Regions from separate parts of the Homo sapiens genome. Here region 2 is linked to region 1. The links are contacts of gene promoters, found by promoter capture Hi-C in human tissues and cell types (Jung and others, 2019). All regions are on one chromosome and are shown on one strand. Each heading gives the region's core, a stretch centred on a gene start or on the middle of the fragment in contact. The rest is flanking DNA. Distances are from core to core; before and after follow the strand shown. Region 1 holds the start of CACNA1I (calcium voltage-gated channel subunit alpha1 I). Region 2 overlaps GRAP2 (GRB2 related adaptor protein 2).

Evidence for each region. The method cuts DNA at HindIII sites, captures the fragments that hold promoters and counts their contacts. A contact is called where the count stands out against the background at its distance.
Region 2: a fragment that was not itself captured here is called in contact with the fragment with the promoter of CACNA1I in region 1 in 3 of the 25 tissues and cell types used here (IMR-90 fibroblasts, lymphoblastoid cells and spleen).

The regions. Positions count from the first base shown.
Region 1 is chr22:39,568,711-39,572,420 of GRCh38, forward strand. It overlaps CACNA1I (calcium voltage-gated channel subunit alpha1 I), which reads left to right and starts at 2,043. Exons shown (of 37, transcript NM_021096.4): 1 at 2,043-2,278. The coding sequence starts at 2,043. The HindIII fragment of the contact is 10,754 bases long and covers 1-3,710 here.
Region 2 is chr22:39,916,067-39,919,847 of GRCh38, forward strand. The region is part of intron 1 of GRAP2 (GRB2 related adaptor protein 2); the gene reads left to right. Among named protein-coding and RNA genes, the nearest start is that of GRAP2, 17 kb to the left of the region's middle. The HindIII fragment of the contact is 5,666 bases long and covers 1-3,781 here.

The sequences.
Region 1 (3,710 bases), core at 793-3,292:
CCAGGAGGTTGACACGTGGCAGGCCAAGGTGCCTGGGAGCTTATGTAAGGCCCGTGGCTGTTTTTCTGGAATCAAGAGCAAAGCCCTGAGCTCAGGAGAAAACTCCGCCTCCCTGACCAGCCAGGGGAAGTGGCAGGAGGTGCCAACCCCTGCCCGTTGCCCCCGGGAGCCAGAGAAATGTCCAAATGCATCAGCTCCGGGTGGCTTGGTCGACAGCCCAGCAGCAGCTGGGTGGGCACCAGGGACGTGGACCCCATCTCTCAATCCCACGGCTCAGACTGGCCCTGTAGGGGTTCTAGGATCCCAGGGACCCCAGTGGACAAAGTTTTAGGGACTAGTACCCTTTGGGGTGAGGTGGTGAGGGGCAGGCCCTGGGAGTGGCTGTCCGTCCCATCTTGCCATTGACTGGTTGCGGAGGCTCTCGGCCAGCGAGGGCACCATCAGTTGTCATGAAGCCCGCCTGGGGGTCTGGTGCTGGGATTCTGGCCTCTCAACACCACCTAGTGCTTCACTTGGCTGGGTGCATAGCCTTGACAACCCGCTTTGTTCTCTTGGCCTCAGTTTCTTCACCTGCCAAATGGGCATAATAGTCCTCCTGAGGTTGTTGTGAGCATCAGACAAGGCCAGGGAGTAGAAGTGCTTTGAGTTGGAGTCGGAGCCAGCAAGATGATTTGCATCACCTAGAACAAAATGAAAATGTGGGACCTCTTGATAAGCAATTAAGAATTTCATGTTGGTGACAGAAGAATTCTAAAGCAAGTTCAGGGCCCTTCTGAGCACGGGGCCCTGTGCAGCTGCCTGAGCCACAGACCCAGGAAGCGGGCTCTGACCGGAATTCTTTTTTTTTTTTTTTTTTGGTGACAGAGTCTTGCTCTGTTGCCCAGGCTGGAATGCAGTGGTGTGATCTTGGCTCACTGCAACCTCCACCTCCCGGGTTCAAGTGATTCTCATGCCTCAGCTTCCCGAGTAGCTGAGATTACAGCGTGTGCCACCACACCCAGCTAATTTTTGTATTTTTAGTACAGATGAGGTCTCACTATGTTGGCCAGGTTGGCCTCAAACTCCTGACCTCAGGTGATCCACCCACCTTGGCCTCCCAAAGTGCTGGGATTACAGGTGTGAGTCACGTGCCTGGCCTTTGACTGGAATTCTATTTCTGCTGTTACTCTGCTACATGTCTGTCCTGTCCCTTCTCTGGGCCTCGGTTTCTTCATCTGTAAGGCAAGGAGGTTAGACTCTAAGATTCCTGGGTTCTCAGCCTTGTAAGGCAGTGGCTGGGAGGTCCCTGGGTCAAGGGCTCAGCTGTAGGTCTCAGCTCAGGGGTTACTTCCTCAGGGAAGCCAACTGTGATTCCCTCCTGGCTTGCCAGCGTTCCCCCAGTCTCTGATTCTGCAGCACCCCAACATTGCCTTTGTAACCTGCATTGTCCTGGCAATAATGTCTGTCTTTACAATCACCTCTTTTTTCTTGCAAGTTTTCTTTACCTTTGATGGTGCAATAAATACATAGCTCTAGTCTTGTAAAAAAGTTAAGATCCCTTCCTTCCTTCCTTCCTTCCTTCCTTCCTTCCTTCCTTTCTTCCCTCCCTCCCTCCCTCTCTCCCTCTCTCCCTCCCTTCCGTCTTTCTTTTCTGTCTATAATTACTTAAACATTTTTTCTCTTAAATAATGAAAGATTTCAAATACAGAAAATTGCCAATAGACAAAAAAAAAAGAGTTAATATCACAATTATATTCTAAGAAGGCTTTATTCTCCCCACTATCTTCGTTTGCCAAAACTGAGGCTCAGCCAGGGTGAGCAGACTTGCCCCATGATCACCCAGCTTGGAAGCAGATTCCAAGTTGGGTGCAGCTGGGCCCTCAGCTGTTTCGTAATCCTCATGCAAGAGTGAGGGTGAGGGGCCTGTGGGGCTCAGGTGGGGCTGTCAGAGCTGCATCCGTCCACTTATTGGTGGAGAGGCAGGTTGGGGAGCATGTACCAGGCCTGTCCCCACCACGTGCCACCCTCTCTGTCTTCCCCAGGGCTCCCAGCTCAGTGTGGACATGGCTGAGAGCGCCTCCCCGCCCTCCTCATCTGCAGCAGCCCCAGCCGCTGAGCCAGGAGTCACCACGGAGCAGCCCGGACCCCGGAGCCCCCCATCCTCCCCGCCAGGCCTGGAGGAGCCTCTGGATGGAGCTGATCCTCATGTCCCACACCCAGACCTGGCGCCTATTGCCTTCTTCTGCCTGCGACAGACCACCAGCCCCCGGAACTGGTGCATCAAGATGGTGTGCAACCCATATCCTCCGCAGCCTCGGCTGATCGGGGCCCTGCAGGGGCTGAAGGGTGGGGGGCTGGATTGAGTCCTGCTGCTCACACCTTGCTCCGGCTGGGAGACCTGAGGTCTGCGGTGAGGCCACTGGGCCTTGGTGGTGGTGAGCGAGCTCAGAGGGTGGGTCTGGGGAGACCTCAAATGGATGAGGACCTGGTGTTCTGCTGATGTGAAGGTTCTGGAAGTTGCTGGTGGCTGTGGGGTCAGTCCAGTGGCTGGCTGGCTCAGAAAGTCCTTGAGTGTGGGCCCCAGACCTGTGCTGGGCTGGGAATGCAGATCAGTCAGACTCTGGAGCCACCTGATGGGCCGTGACCATACAGAGGATGGGAGCCGTGATCAGGAACTGTGGGCGTGGGCAGCGGGGCAGCCGATCCCAACACACAGGGCAGGACTCATTCTCCTTACTGTGCCTCCGAGCAGCCTCTTCCCAGGCCTCCTGCCTCCACTTGCTGCCTCCAGTGGGCTCATGTTCCCCCTGCTTAAGACTGTCATGATTTGCTATGGTCCTGGAGGTGCAGAGCAAAGTCCTAATCCAACCCATCAGGGCCTGTGTGTTCCACCCAGCCTCACTTCCCACCACTTGGCTTCCCCCCTGTGCTCTTCTGAGCCTCAGGGTCCTCTCACTGGCTCTTCCCCCTGTCTGAAAAGCTTTTCCCTTCCCCCTGGACCTGGCCAAATCCTTTGCTACATCCTTAAAATCCCAGCTTAAGCATCACCTCCTCAGGGAAGCCCTCTGGGATTCCTCCTCTGCTTCATATCTAACTGTCACATCTAACTGTGGAATTCTGAATCTAACATTTGCCTCCCCTGGGGTACTGTCAGATGACTGGGATGGGGACCCTAGCACCTGGCACAGTGCTTGGCACATCGTGGGTGCTCTGGCAGTGTTTGCTGGGTGTACATGGGCAATGCCAGAGCTGACTCCTCAATAAGGAAGAGCGTTGGTTGGGTAGAGAGGGTAGTGGGAGGCAGGAGGAGGGCATGGCAGGAGCGAAGCCTGGAGAAGGGAGGAGTTGCAGGCAGTGTTGGAGCCCTGAGGGGCAGAGAGGAGTGAGGTGAGGCTGCAGGTGTGGCGGGAGCCCTGCAGGGCCTTGGAGGCTGCATGAGGGATGGGACTGTGCTCCAAGGGCAGGATTTGAAGCAGGGTCTGGAGAGATCTGTGCTCTGGAAGGACTGTGTGGCACTGGCTTGCAGGGTGAAGTGGGGGCTGGGGACCACTGAGGAGGAGGCTTGGGGACCCAAGCCATGGTGGCCTTGTGGTTTGAGGGTCCCACCAAAAAATGCCCATATGTGGCTCGAGGTTCTGGTGCTTGTGGCCACACAGGGCAGGGTGCGGGGAGCTGGTGGGTCAGGTGCAGGCCTGAGTCCTGCCCTGGAATCCAGGGATGCCAGATGCAGG
Region 2 (3,781 bases), core at 773-3,272, 350 kb after region 1:
AACCCCCAATCCACCCTCCCTTCCCAGCTCTGCCCCAGATTAAGTGAATCTCTTTCTCTCCAGCACTCAGTCTTATGTTAGAATTATTTATGTGGGCATTGATCTTCCTGGATTGACTGTGACCTGCTGAAGGCAGCGGTGGTCCTGGCATCTGCCACAGCCCCCTCCCCCAACAGCACTTCATCACCTCCGTGAACGGAAGTGAATGGAAGGAACAGCTCAATTAGGATGGCAGAGGATCAAGGAGAGAATTCCACGGACCCAAAACATCCTGCAAAAAGGCTTTGTCCCCAGAGGTTGGTCTTCAATTTGGAAAAATTCCTACCTGAGCAACTGTAGGACCCCTCTGAAATGGAACAGGGTCTATTAGACTCATAAAAAGCCTCAGTGATGAGTTGGTTATTATTATTCTCTTTACTTTTCTGTACATTTAAAGTGTTTTATATTTTAAATTGAATGTAAAAAGATCCCATCCTATTTAAAAGTTAGTGAGTTGAATAAGTTTCATTATAACTTGATTTTCTTCCTAAAGGTTTTCCTATAGTTCAAATTATAAAAGTCATTCTTAGATTCCCAGCTTAGTTCCCCCATGAAATCACGAGTTCTTAGACTGTGTTTCACACAATGCCAGGTCACATTGCACCCTTACTGAAAGGAACTTCTTGTGCAGAGTGCGGGGCTCTTGGAGAAAGAAAAGTACCACTTTTTTAGCACATTAAAAACAAATCCTTGAGCTGTTTTATTATTTTAATACTTTACCTTTAGTGGAGCAGAAATGATTTATTTGATGGTTTTGGCAGGTGATTTTTTTTTTCGGAATCTTCTTTAACACTATTAGCCATGTAACTATTGCCAAGTACATAATAAGTACTCAATAATTATTATTATCTTTTAATTAAAATGTGATGCACTTCTAAACTAAAGGTAACTTCAGTCATGTAGAATAGAAAGCAATGGGTGGAGCTTCCAATTGCTTCTCTTTGGTATTCATTAGAAATCATTTTTGAAACTGAGAAGTTGGGGGAAAGATCAGACATTTTTATGGAAACTGCATTGATGACAGCAGAGTGTAATTTTGTTGGTAGTGATTTGATACACAATTATTTGAGGGATTTACTGTGCTCATGGATTAGCGCTGTGTTGTTACTGTAACAGAGGATTGGCGCAGAGCCCTGGCCCAGTGCAAAGCTCTCTAACATCGTTTCTCTTCCTTCATCAGCAGCCCAAAGCCCCCCTCTCTACAACTCCATGCAGCACAGTCCTGGCACAAACCCCTAACCTGAAATTCCAGCCAATTTCACTAACAACACGCCTCTCCCCTTCACCTGCCAGATGCTTCTCGTTCTCAGACACTGCACCCTGAAATTGGGAGCTTTCACTGAGTTAAAAAGGCAAATATAGAATTACCTAGCTGTATCAGTATTTTAAGTGCACTTGTAGACTTAAATGAGAGCTCTTGTACAAAACCACTTGTATTCTTTCTTAAGATATGCTAATTTTTTTCTCTCTTTGATTGAACTGTTGACCTTCTGGATATATGACTAGTTATTACTTCAAGTATGTTTGGAACTATTCTTGCCCTAACTGTTCTAAAATGTAATTAGCATTGAGACATTATTGTAGAAGCACAGCACCTGGGGCTGGGATCTCATTAGATGGCAAAAATTGAGCAGAATTGTGCATGCTCCATGCTCAAAATATCTCTAAGAAAAATTAATGGCATTAGGGGGAAAGTTAAAATTGGTGATTTCGTAGGCCCTTTCTTGCTCACATATTTGATTCGTATAAGGATCCAAACAGAAAGGAGATTGTGGTTCTTCTGTTTAAAAAATGAAGACAACTCTGCTTTCTTAGAACTCTTCTTATGTAATGTGGCTGCTGTCACATCTCTGGGTCAACCAAAACCAAAATAATACATTTTCTGGCTCTAGCTTTTTCCCCCCTCAAGAAATGCATAGCATTTTTAGGCATTATCTGATTTTTCCTTGCAACAACAGATGTTACAGAGAATGAATATTCTGTAAGAGGTAGTTAACAAAGTGTGGAAAAACTGAGGCCCAAAGAGGTACTATAACTCACGGGTTTTTCACGCTCCTCCCTGAACATTCCCGCATCTCTTCTACTGGGGAGGGAGCTCTTTATTTTCTGAATTGAAAACCATTTCATGCCTCCTGCTCAGCTATTTCAGTACTGGCTCCTAAGTTTGGCACCAATCCCAACTGTTATGAAATCGCAGACGAATAATAACGAAGTTCTTCATTGCTGGGATCCCAAAAGGTTATCATTTCGAGTTCATTGCAGGGCACTTTAGACGTCCATATTGGGCCCTAAATGATTGGAACCATCAGGAGAGGGCTTGCCTGACTCTGCCATTCACCTCATTTGTAAGTCTCTGCCGTGTTTCGACACTGAGTTGTGTCTTGTTGTTTAAAAATAACTTCTCATTATAATAACATTTTCCCTTAATTGAAAAAATATTTCTGACCTGAATTTATTATTGTCATAGCTGTGTGAGCAAGCAGAGTCTTGTTTGCCTCTACAATATATTAATAATGTATTAATTAGCTTCCCAGTGCTGCCCAAACAAGGAACAAAAAGGATTTATCTAAATCATGAAAACTGAAGTGAAGCGAACACTTTGGTAATTATATTTTAAGGGCAGTCTCAGCATTTGATAGTGTGGCAAATTTTTGTCCTGCCTTTTGAGAGAAGATAACCAAAAACACCACTCAATTAACAAAACGTTGTTTAGTACCTACTATGCACAAAGTCTGAGAGGTAAAAGAGGTTAAGACAAATAAAATTGTCCAATTTATTTTTATGGCCATAGTTAAAAGGCAATAAAGGCAAGACACTGTGAGTATTTTGATTTAGCTACAATTAGCTGAAATATACTACATCAAATCATATGAAATTGACAATATCTGGGGGCTGGCTGCCGTGACTCATGCCTGTAATCCCAGCACTTTTGGGGCCCAGGATAATCACTTGAGGCCAGGAGTTCAAGGCTACAGTGAGCCAGGGTTGTACCACGGCACTCCAGCCTGGGCCACAGTGTGACCCTGTCTCTAAAGAAATAAAAATAAAAATAAATAGAAGATATTGACAATAGCTGACCCTATTTTTTACCCCAAAAGTGGTGATTTTATATAATTTAATCTAATATTAAGGTATTCTTGTCATACTGTACCAGCTCCTAAACATTATACTTTTCATTTTACTTCTATTTCTAAGCTATCATTATTACAACAACCAAGAGAAGGTAAATACAGGTCAGAGATTTGACTCCTGTTTTTTGTATGTATTTATTTTTGTAGATTCACAAATAACTTATATTTTGCAGTTTTAAGGTTTCTAATTATATTAGACCCTGTTTTTTATTTTATTTAGAGTCATTGTCCTTGCTGCCTGTCCTTCACATGTGACAAGTCAATTCTTCATGCCATTTCCTTCACAATCTTCATGCAAACTCATCATCTCCATTTCCATCTATTCTTCAGAGATGTATGATTGCAGAAAACTCCCCTTTTTTGAAATATTGCTCAATAGAGATTAAATCTAACACCCAGTTTTACCTGTCTATCCTTGAATTACAGGTTACTGAGAAGTCAGAACAGATAGCCATAGAAGTACCCCACTAAATCCATTCTTCTATCTCCTTCAATATTTGACAAATATTTACTAAGCATCTATCTTGAGCAAGCATTGGAGTAAGTCCTCCCATAAATATGAAGTTGTGTAAATAAGGATGCATGCATTCATGTAAATACAAGTTTAATGC